Regions from separate parts of the Homo sapiens genome. Here regions 1 and 3 are each linked to region 2. Evidence: promoter capture Hi-C in 16 types of primary human blood cells and fetal thymus (Javierre and others, 2016). All regions are on one chromosome and are shown on one strand. The core of a region is centred on a gene start or on the middle of the fragment in contact, and the rest is flanking DNA. Distances in the headings are between cores, read along the strand shown.

Region 1 (3,795 bases), core at 1,083-3,582, 520 kb after region 2:
GTCATCTATCCATCTAAAATTGACTTTTGTGTATAGTGTAAAGTTGGAGTCAGTTTAGCTTTTCCCTTATATGGCTAATCAATTAATTTTTATTAAATAGTCCTCCCTCCCCCTAATGTGCAATGCCAGTTTTGTCATAGGTGAGGTTTCTGTTTATTCATCTATTCACAAGTCTTATTCTAGATTCTGTTTTGGTCCATGGATCTATCTCTGAACTTATATCACAGTCTTAATTATGATGATTTTATATCAATTCTTAATACCTGGTAGTAGTGTAATTACTGACACTTGTTCTTCTTCAGGATTATTTTGGCTATCTTTGGCCCTTTGCTTTGCTATATAAAATATATAAATTTTAGGGTCAGCTTGTCAAGTTCTGTGAATAGAAAGTCATTAAATCTACAGCTTATTTTAGGGAAATACTATTTGTATCTTCTTTTTGTCTTTTACTGAAGTTTTTATTATTTTTTTCTGTAAAAGCCTTCACATTTTTGTTAGATTTACTCCAAAGGTGTCTTTTTTTTAATTGCCGTTGTAATTGGCATCTTTAATTGTGTGTTCTAAATATTTGTTGCTGAAGTATACATGTGTAATTGTATTTTGTATATTGACCTTACTTAAGGCAGACTTGCTAAGCTCCTATGAAGTCTAATGGCTTTTTGATGGAGTTTTTGAGTTTCCTAGCAAGATATTCACAAGTAGGAATAGTTTGTTTCTTTCAGGTCCTCATACCTTTTATTCCTCTTTCCCATTTTAAGGGCAAGCTAGATCACCTAGTACAATGTTACAGAAGTGGTGAGAACAGTCATCTTTACCGTGTTCTTAGTTTTAAAGAAAATGCTTTTTAAGGTCTCACCATTAAGTGTGATATGTGCTGTTAGATTTTTGCAACTTCCCTTTATCATGTTAGATAGTTTCCTTTTAGCCTTCATTTACTAAGAATTTTTAAAATCATTGATGACTAGATTTAATCAATTGCTGTTTTTTGTATCTATTGAGCTAATAATATTTTTTCATTAATCTGATAATGTGGTAAATTACTCTAATGTGAAATTAAGCTTTTATTGTAGGAATAAACTATCTTGGTCACAATAGATTAACTTCTTTATACATTGCTGATTTGATTTGCTAAATTTTTAAAAGGATTTTCAAATAAATTACACTGGCTTGAACGTTTCTTTTCCAGGTCTTTATCTGGTTTTAGTATCAAAATTACACTAGCCTTATATAATGAGTTGGATGCTCATCTCTCTTTTTCTATTCTCTGCAAGACTTCACATATGATTGCACTGATCTCTTGAATGTTTGGTTGTGCTTACCTTTTGAACTAACTAGGCCTGGTGTTTTCTCTGTTGGAAAAATTATAGCTAGTAATTAAATATATTTAGTGATAATAGCAGAGCTGTCTTTTTTTATAAATTATTTTATTTCTTCCAAAATTCTTTTTTTTTTTTTTTTTTTTTTTTTTTTTGAGATAGAGTTTTGCTCTGTCACCTAGGCTGGAGTCCAGTGGTGTGATCTCAGCTCACTGCAACTTCCACCTCTCGGGTTCAAGCAATTCTCATGCCTCAGCCTCACAGTAGCTGAGATTACACGCATGTGCCACCACGCCCAGCTAATTTTTATATTTTTAGTAGAGACAGGGCTTTGCCATGCTGGCCAGGCTGGTCTCAAACTCCTGGCCTCAAGTGATCCGCCCTCCTGGGCTTCCCAAAGAGCTGGGATTTCAGGTGCGACCCACTACGCCCAGCCCCATGATGATTTAGAGGGACTATCTTCAAACCAGTACAAACAGTTCATAAATAACATCTGCCCGTTTTCTAACCAATTGAGTAATTTGTTGCACAATAAGCTACCTCACATCTTTCAGCAAGAAAAACTTTAAATTAGAATAGTAAAGATATTACACAATGAATTAGGACACAATTAAAATTTGCTTTAAATGTATCTTTGTGGGAGATGACACCACACTTCTACTCAATGAAGAGAAACATTTTTACAGTCCAGAGGTCTTTGATATTTTAAACATCTATTAAGCCATGAATTCATAGGGAATAGGTTCCAGCAGCTCAGGCTTCTTCCCGCTGGTTCTCACAAAGTGTGTTTCTCTGGGTGGAGCAGGCTGGCACTTCAGCTGAACCCGGGTAGCTTTCTCTTTGGCTTCCTTCTTTTTCTGATCATTTTCCTTCATGTGTTTCAGGAAACTATCAGGGATCTTAGAATGTTTAACATGCTCAATATGCACATTAATTTTCTTGGCAAGAATCTTGCCCTTAGCTTGTTTGTTTATAACAATGCCAACAGCACGCTGGGGAACACTGTAGACTCTCCCAGTTTTGCCATGGTTAACATTTGTGGGGCATTCCTTTTTGAACAGTATCCATTTTCTTGATGTCTACAATATCACCTTTCTCATAGATTCACATATACGTGGCCAAAGGAAAAACCCCATGTTTTCTAAAAGGCCTAGAGAACATATATCTGGTGCCTCTCCTCTTTTCCCGTGTTCATCATTTTGGCGAATTACTGGAAGACGGAGGTTCCAGCCAAAAGGCAATAGCAGAGCTTTCTATCTGGTGTGTTCTGAGTGGGCCTCAGAGATTTTAAACACTCAGCCCTGAAGAGGCCAAGTCAGATGGGTGAGAAGTGGATGTGGGGCTGCTGGAGGCCCTGGCCAAGTTGCCTCTGGTCATAAGCATTCTGATCTCTCTTTTTTGTTGTTTTTGAGTATGATCTCACTCTGTCACCCAGGCTAGAGTAAACAGTGGTGCCAATGTGGCTTACTGCAGCCTCAACCTTCCATGCTCAAGCGATCCTCCCACCTCGGCCTCCCAAAGTGCTGGGATTACTGGCATGCATCACCATGCCCAGCCCTATTTCCATGTCTTTACCCTACTGTGCCATTGAGGTATTTTGCCATTGAGGTACTGGGGAGACAAAATAACCTCCAGTCAAGAATCACTACTCCAGGGCCTGAAATCCTGTCTTTAAACTTCTGCCTGATGCCCAGAGTCCTGGTATCTGCTGACAAAACCTCCTAATACCAAACACAAGGCAATTTCTCCAAATATAGCTTATTCCTGGCGTTCCCATGGCCATGCCCCGCTGTCTTGGGAAGATGCTGCTGTAATTCTCACAGCCTCTTTCTCATGCCAACAGCTTGGCTGGACTGTCGATTGCTCTTTAGGGAGATACCATTTTCTCTGACTTGAGCAAGTGACCCTTTATCCCCCATAAGAAGATTTCCTATGGGGATGGGGTGGGGCTGGTTTCGGTCTTTGGATCTGTCCTGTTGAGATCCAGTTAGTTCTTCCAAGAGTGGCTGTGTCATGAGACATCACAGCGAGAATGTGTTTGTTTTCCTTGAGAAAGTAATCTTTCCAGTGGTTTTATGTGAGAGAGCCTGTCCTTTTCCTATGGAAGAAGACATGGAGTTTTCTGAAGGGGATAAATTGCCCCATTTGACTGTGTAACAAGTCAGTTGGGAATGAGCAGCAGAACCACAGAATTGCAGCCTTAATAGATGCCAGCAGTACAAAGGTGGTGGTGAGCTTAATAAGAGCCTTAGAGAGAGGGGGAGAGAGTGACTGATTGACTGAAAGCTTAGAGCAGAGAACAGAAGGAGGGAAAAAACATTGTGTAATGCTTTTCATAGAGAAAATAGTCTAAGAACCACAGGGTGGGGAGCAAGAGAAAAAGTGTAGAACAAATTGTACCTTGCACTATCCTAAACTTGGCCTAGTTAATTACAGTGGGATAGGCGGTGCCAAGAGGGCCCAGAGCCTGAGACAGATA
Region 2 (3,820 bases), core at 175-2,674:
TATTTCTCTGTGTGAATGCTGGAGTTTTAATTACACACTTGCTTTTTATGGGGAAGAAGACCAAAGATCATATTTTTGAAGGTATCAACTTGTTTTCTATCAGACAGTTGTTTTAACAAGTTCTTTCAGCGACATGTTATGTCTTTAGGAAAGGGTGCTTCAGATGGTGCGCACTAGCACAATTTTGTGGCTTTTAATTACTATTTTGTTCTTTTGGGGGGTTTCAGAGGCTGGCGCCTGGGCGTGATTAGACCGTCTACCCCGCCCCCCGCAACCTCGCACACTGCCCACCAGGTGGCGCCACAAAGCAAGCGCTGCCGCAGGAACTTCGGACTTGGGAGTCCAGCAAGTCGTGCAGTCCATCACCGTCGGGCCAAGGTTTCCAACTACAAGGTTATAGAGACAGAGGAAGTCACCATTTCCGATTTTTTAAAAAACAGAGGGAAAAGAAAAAAATTGCAATGATAGGGTAGAACAGGGTCCTAAAATGCAAAACTGTAAAACAGGATTAAATTCAACAAACCAGATAAAACTTTTTATATTTGTTGTAAATTTACAGAGAAGTGATAAATCTAGTATCTACTTGATAAATCTATAATCTCACCTATTATCCTATTTCCTTTTTCGCAAGAGCATCGAATTTTCAAGGACAACTGGTGAACCTTTCCACCCGAAGGAGGAAGTCCTCGGGATGGCTTTCAGGGTGTCATTTACTTATCAAACGTATATAATTACTCAGAGTCTCGCGTGTCGGGAAAGTACCAGGGAAAGTGGTTTCAAATATACTATTAGCAATAATACCTTTAAGTTTATGTAGCTTCTCTTTGAAGCAACAAGGAAAACCCGTTTCAATATTATATGATTAATTGTCCTAATATCCCTGCGGATTGGTTAAGAAGCGAGCATTACACGTGGTTTGTGGATAATTAAATCAATTGATTATGTCAAGTGCCGAGTGGCTAACAAGAATAAATGCCAGACACTTCGAGGAAAAGTGAAGATAGAGCTGGCTGGACTCTGGGCACCGATGTACTTTAATGTGTTTGAAAACTGACCTCGGACATGAAAGTACGAATCACTGGAACTGGCACTTGCTCACAGAATGGGAGAGGGGACCCCACTTCTTCCTCTGAGGCAAAACGCCAGTCTGTCTCCACGCCTTCTGTCTTCCTGCTGCGGGCCACCCTGACTCCTCGCTACCTCGACCCCTCGCCTCGCTGCTCACATTCGGCGGCAGTCTGTTTGCACCTGGGGCCGCTGCAGCCGCAGCCGCAGCCACAGCGCCCACCATGTGACGCCCGCCCCTTGGCCGGGCGTTCCCGGAGCTCCGCGGCCGTTTGCTTCTGATTGGCTGTTGCTAGGTGACGTCGCCAGCGCTCACGTGACGAGTGTTAAATGCCCACACTTCAGGAGCCCGCCTGGCAGACAATCGTAAAGCCGCTCGGGGCCGCTCACCTGCTCCCGCCTCCCAGAGCCCCGACCCGGCCCAGCCACCCCTGCCCCCTCCACTGCCCGCCCCCCGCCAGAGCCCGCGCTCGCGCTGGGCAAGGAGCCGAGCGGGCCCAGAGGCCGAAAGAGGATGCGACCAGAGGCAGCTGTCCCGAGCAGCGCACGGTGATCGCCTCCCCCGGAGGAGGAGGCGCCTAGACGGTTGCCTCCTTTCTTGTTTCCCCACCACCACCCCCGTAATTACATTGGCTGCTGGAGGGGACCGGGAGAGACAGAGGAGGCGCCTGGCTTCCCCCGCACGCCCGCCACCTCTGCTCTTTCCCGTCTCGGGCCAGGATGACTGGAGTCTTTGACAGTCTAGTGGCTGATATGCACTCGACCCAGATCGCCGCCTCCAGCACGTACCACCAGCACCAGCAGCCCCCGAGCGGCGGCGGCGCCGGCCCGGGTGGCAACAGCAGCAGCAGCAGCAGCCTCCACAAGCCCCAGGAGTCGCCCACCCTTCCGGTGTCCACCGCCACCGACAGCAGCTACTACACCAACCAGCAGCACCCGGCGGGCGGCGGCGGCGGCGGGGGCTCGCCCTACGCGCACATGGGTTCCTACCAGTACCAAGCCAGCGGCCTCAACAACGTCCCTTACTCCGCCAAGAGCAGCTATGACCTGGGCTACACCGCCGCCTACACCTCCTACGCTCCCTATGGAACCAGTTCGTCCCCAGCCAACAACGAGCCTGGTATGCATAACGCTGAAGTCAAGAGTGCCGAGTCGGTCTAGTTAATGGGATGGATGGGTAAACGTGTTTGGGGCGGGGGGCCTTCGAAAGCTCTGGATTTTCACGCTGCCTGCTCACCGCCCGCTTGTGCCCTTTACCCTCCCCAGCCTCCAATCTGCCGCAGGTCGCCGGTTACGTCCCTCTCTCCTTTGGTAGGACCTGGTGGCCTCAAGAGCCAAGTGGGCGTGCTCTGCCTGCCTCATAAGGGCATCTCCTTGCCACCAGCTTCTTTCTCTTGGGTGTGCACTTGTCTCCCCCTTCCCTGGAGGGTACAGCTCCCGGGGTCGGTGGCGGCTCCGATCGCACGCTGCGAAGTTGCGCCTGCCCGTGGCGCCACAGTTCAGTGCACCCACCTCTTTGCTCAAGCCAAGTCCCCCCCGCCGGGCCCTCTAGGAGGGCGGGAACTCCAGGACCCCTGGGTTGCGCTGTTCTTACGATTCTTTATCGTTGCAGAGAAGGAGGACCTTGAGCCTGAAATTCGGATAGTGAACGGGAAGCCAAAGAAAGTCCGGAAACCCCGCACCATCTACTCCAGTTTCCAGCTGGCGGCTCTTCAGCGGCGTTTCCAAAAGACTCAATACTTGGCCTTGCCGGAGCGAGCCGAGCTGGCGGCCTCTCTGGGCCTCACCCAGACTCAGGTGGGGCTCGCGCCCTGCAGGGGCGAGGAGAGCGCGGGCCTGAGATGGCTGGGAAGCAGGCGGGTTTAGGACAATGCTTTTTAAAGTTCATTTTAAGTACTTTTAAGGATTTCCAGGCCTGCGCCTCGAGCGGCCCTAAGTAAGCTTCTAGGCCCAAAGCTGGAAACCCCCAAGGGGCCGCCGTGGGAGGGAAGGAAAGGGACCGGGTGGACAGAAATCCCGTACCTCTCGCTACTGATTAAGCGGGTGAAATAACTGGCCCTCCTCACCCTCCCGCTGTCACCATCATCACAGTGCACGTACACCAGCAGTCCTGGCCTTTTGGCAATTACCTCCCCAGGGAGCAGGAACCGGCAGAGCCTCGAAGGCCGCCGCCCGTGATCCTCTTATCTCCCCAGGGCGCTCGCTGCCCACCGCTAGCCAGCGGTTTTTCTCTGCCTTCTTTTTTCTCCTCTTCGAACCCCTACTGCCCCAAGACTAGGTTCCTCCACTAATGCTCAGGTCTTTTTCCTCAAAGGTCAAAATCTGGTTCCAGAACCGCCGGTCCAAGTTCAAGAAGATGTGGAAAAGTGGTGAGATCCCCTCGGAGCAGCACCCTGGGGCCAGCGCTTCTCCACCTTGTGCTTCGCCGCCAGTCTCAGCGCCGGCCTCCTGGGACTTTGGTGTGCCGCAGCGGATGGCGGGCGGCGGTGGTCCGGGCAGTGGCGGCAGCGGCGCCGGCAGCTCGGGCTCCAGCCCGAGCAGCGCGGCCTCGGCTTTTCTGGGCAACTACCCCTGGTACCACCAGACCTCGGGATCCGCCTCACACCTGCAGGCCACGGCGCCGCTGCTGCACCCCACTCAGACCCCGCAGCCGCATCACCACCACCACCATCACGGCGGCGGGGGCGCCCCGGTGAGCGCGGGGACGATTTTCTAACCCCAGGGAGAACTCGCCAGAGACTGAGAGCAGAGACCA
Region 3 (3,699 bases), core at 516-3,015, 540 kb after region 2:
GCTGACTAAGAATCCCTAAGCCTAGCTGGGAAGGTGACTGCATCCACCTTTAAGCACGGGGCTTGCAACTTAGCTCACACCAGACCAGTCAGGTAGTAAAGAGAGCTCACTAAAATGCTAATTAGGCTAAAACAGGAGGTAAAGAAATAGCCAATCATCTATCACGTGAGAGCACAGGGGAAGGGACAATGATTGGGACATAAACCCAGGCATTCGAGCCGGCAACGGCAACCCCCTTTGGGTCCCCTCCCATTTTATGGAAGCTCTGTTTTCACTCTATTAAATCTTGCAACTGAAAAAAAAAAAAAGATGGGCTAGAGGCAGGAACCAAGTTCTTTGAATGCTGTGAGGAGAAACATTCCACCCAGACTGAGGCGTGGTGGGAGCAGGGGCAAAGGAGATGAAGCAGGAGCTGAAAAGCTCTAAAATCTGAGTTTTAGAGGAGATGCTGAATTCAGCAAGGTGTAGAAAGTTGGGTAGGATATTTGAGTATGTTTTACCAGATCCTCATGACCTTATTGTAGCTATTACAGGGCAGAAATTTGTCTTAAACCTAGCAGAGAACCACTACGTAGAATAATTTGCTATTCCATAAATATTCCTTTCTGTTGACTCCCAAATTTTTTTTTATTTTTTTATTTTTATTTTTATTTTTTGAGACAGAGTCTTGCTCTGTCACTTAGGCTGGAGTGCAGTAGCATGATCATGGCTCACTGCAGCCTTGACTTCCTGGACTTAAGTGATCCTCCCACCCTAGCCTCCTGAGTAGCTGGAACTACAGGCACATGCCACCACACCTAGATAACTTCTTAATTTTGTTTTTTTAGAGATGCGGTTTCACTTTGTTGCCCAGGCTGGTCTTAAACTCCTGGGCTTAAGTGATCTTCACACCTCAGCCTCCCAAAGTGCTAGGATTACAGGCATGAGACATTGCACCCGGCCAACTCCAAATTTTTAGACAGAGCTCTATTCCTTTAACCAATTGCATATTAAAGAGTCTCTGAATCCACCTATAAACTAAGCTTCTGTTTCAAGTTATCCCACCTTTTTGGGGCAAACCACTGCATACCTTCCATGCATTGATTTATGCCTTTCCCTATAACTCCTGCTTCCCTAAAATATCTAAAAGCAAACTGTAATTCCGACTGCTGGGGCACACTTTCTCAGGACCTCTTGAGACTGTGTTCCCCAGGTCATTGACACTTGTATTGGCTCAGAATAAACCTCTTTAAAATATTTTACAGGCTACTCTCTGCCTAGGGGGTAGCACTGCTCTACAGGAGCAGTCATGGTGCTGTAACACTGCCTCTTCAGTAAAGCTGTTTTCTTCCACCTCTGGCTTGCTCTTGAATTCTTTCCTGGGCAAAGCCAAAAACCTACATGGGCTAAGCTCCACGTTGGGGCTCCCCTGACCTGCATCAGTTTCTCTAATCTCTTACTGCTCAGGAGTCAAGTGGCCAGAGGTCACAAAATTTGTGACTTCCCCAGTTGCTCCTATAGATAACATCACTATTGTAGAACCTAAGATTGGTCAGGTAGTGAAGAGCTGACCCCATCTGGACTTGTGACTCATGACTTAATTGGTCCTGTGGCCCTCCTCCAGAGGGGGACTCAGTGCATGAGGATTGTTTTCTACACACCTATGATTGCATTCCCAACCAATCAGCAGCATCCATTCCCTTGCCCCTGCCCACCAAACTATCATTGAAAAACCCTAACCTCTGAGCCCTCAGGAAGACTGATTTGAGTGATAACTCCAGTCCTTCTGCTTGGCTGCTTTGCATTAATTAAACTCTTTACTGCGAAAAATTTTATATATATAAAATATTAAATATTATATATAAATATATAATAATAGTAAATATTATATATAAATATATAATATTAATAGTAAATATTATATATAAATATATGATATTAATAGTAAATATTATATATAAATATATGATATTTATAGTAAATATTATATATAAATATATGATATTTATAGTAAATATTATATATAAATATATAATATTAATAGTAAATATTATAAAATATGTATTATACATTACAGAGTCTGGCTTTTCAGTTAACATAATCAAGAAACTGAAAAAAGACTATCTCTGCTGAAAAATAAACAAACCAAAAACCATGGCAAAGAAACTTTCACAACAATGCCTACCCCTGCTACCCCAGACAAATTGATAACACACAAAGAGCTTCCAAAATAACTTTTATTACTATATAAAAGAAGTCAAGAAAAAATAGATGCATATTTTTCCTACAAAATTATAAAATATTCAGGATAGTTAATATTTTTTCCATAAATGCGCTAAGATAAAAAGATAGAAATCTTTTTCACTTAAGGTTTTCGAGTACCTTGTAGGAATTAAAGAACAATAATGTTCTTTCTTCTACATTTTCCTAAAGACATAGCAGTTACAGTTTCCTGCTGGAGTTATCTAAAAAAGGACATACCAAGATAAATTTTCTATCATATTGAAATAAAATTAGCATAAAGCTTTACTTCTGTCTTTGTGCTTTTAGATTGGCAACTGTGGTCAATCAGTGCTGCACTGGAATTTCCAACTCAGCAGGGGAAAGAATCTAATTAAAAATGACACACACTCTGTATTTTGTCCTTTAGAAAACAGAAACTGCTTGTCGATATCCCTTAAAAAGTGCAATTGCCTTCTTTGTCATTTCTTTGTAAAGTCTGAGATGTTGTTTCTAAACAGCACAGCTTACATGAAACCACGCAAGTAAAGGAAAGAAAGTGCTTTAGAGGGCAGGTTCCATTTGACACAAGCAGCACAGGAAGCCGTACACTTTTGATGACAGTAATTCAAAAAGTATATTCATTTGAGTTTCTCAATAAACGCTTTGAGAGAAAAGGCTTTAATGTTGATTCAGATGAGTGTTAAAATAAAGCTTTCTTTTCTGAAATTAGATTATGGGGTAAACCAAGCCAGATTATCTCTGGAGATGACAGAAGCCATAATTATTTTGGGAAATTTCAATCACTGTTTTGGAATTGATACCTAAGGCTTTCTTCTCCCCTATTATTTATGGGCTTTTTAATGAGATATTTTTCTCGGGAGATGCTTAGGTAGGAAATATCAGCTTTTGAAAGATAAAGGTACAATTATCATTAGAATCAAAAGCCCATTAAATAAGAGTCTCAAACAAAGGTTTTCTAGATATATTTTATATACGTTGTTTTCATAAAGATAGAAAAGAAATTCCTATAATATCTGTAAGATTATCCTCACATTAGCCCACATGAAAGATAAAATAAAGGGCTGAGATGGGGGGTGCTTAAATACTTTGCAACAGTGCTATTCTAGTGCCAAAGCCATAATTAACTTTTCACTGATAACCTGTTTCTTAGCCTATACAAAAAGGAATGGCCACCTCAATTCTGGCGGCTTAGTCACTATCTAATCCCTTCCTCCAAAAACCCTGGAATTTTGTGTTCCTCTATGTAATGGAACATCCAACTTATCAAATGATGTGTGACTATGCAACTACTCCTTCTATGGCACCAAGACTGTACCATGCTCCACCCATACTGAATTTAATTGTGCTACCACTTTGTGCCAGGCAGAGGGCTGGGTACTGGGGATCCTTCTGGCTCTATTACCAATTTTGGAAATAGAATTTAGTAGAGAAGAAGAGAACAGTGTTGCAGCAAGGGGATCTTGAATGGTTTTTCAT

What was found. The method cuts DNA at HindIII sites, captures the fragments that hold promoters and counts their contacts. A CHiCAGO score of 5 or more calls a contact.
Region 1: a fragment that was not itself captured here is called in contact with the fragment with the promoter of DLX2 in region 2 in 1 of 17 cell types (monocytes); the score reaches 5.9 in monocytes.
Region 3: a fragment that was not itself captured here is called in contact with the fragment with the promoter of DLX2 in region 2 in 1 of 17 cell types (megakaryocytes); the score reaches 5.1 in megakaryocytes.

The regions. Positions count from the first base shown.
Region 1 is chr2:171,585,812-171,589,606 of GRCh38, reverse strand. It overlaps the pseudogene RPL21P38. Among named protein-coding and RNA genes, the nearest start is that of CYBRD1, 65 kb to the right of the region's middle. The HindIII fragment of the contact is 2,544 bases long and covers 1,061-3,604 here.
Region 2 is chr2:172,100,504-172,104,323 of GRCh38, reverse strand. DLX2 (distal-less homeobox 2) reads left to right here and starts at 1,424. Exons shown (of 3, transcript NM_004405.4): 1 at 1,424-2,185; 2 at 2,678-2,862; 3 at 3,380-3,820. The coding sequence starts at 1,786. The coding sequence ends at 3,781. DLX2-DT (DLX2 divergent transcript) reads right to left here and starts at 1,318. Exons shown (of 5, transcript NR_126376.1): 1 at 1,056-1,318; 2 at 292-386. RefSeq lists a silencer at 1,423-1,622. The HindIII fragment of the contact is 7,057 bases long and covers 1-3,008 here.
Region 3 is chr2:171,556,633-171,560,331 of GRCh38, reverse strand. It overlaps CYBRD1 (cytochrome b reductase 1), which reads right to left. Exons shown (of 4, transcript NM_024843.4): 4 at 2,203-3,699. Among named protein-coding and RNA genes, the nearest start is that of CYBRD1, 36 kb to the right of the region's middle. The HindIII fragment of the contact is 1,481 bases long and covers 1,025-2,505 here.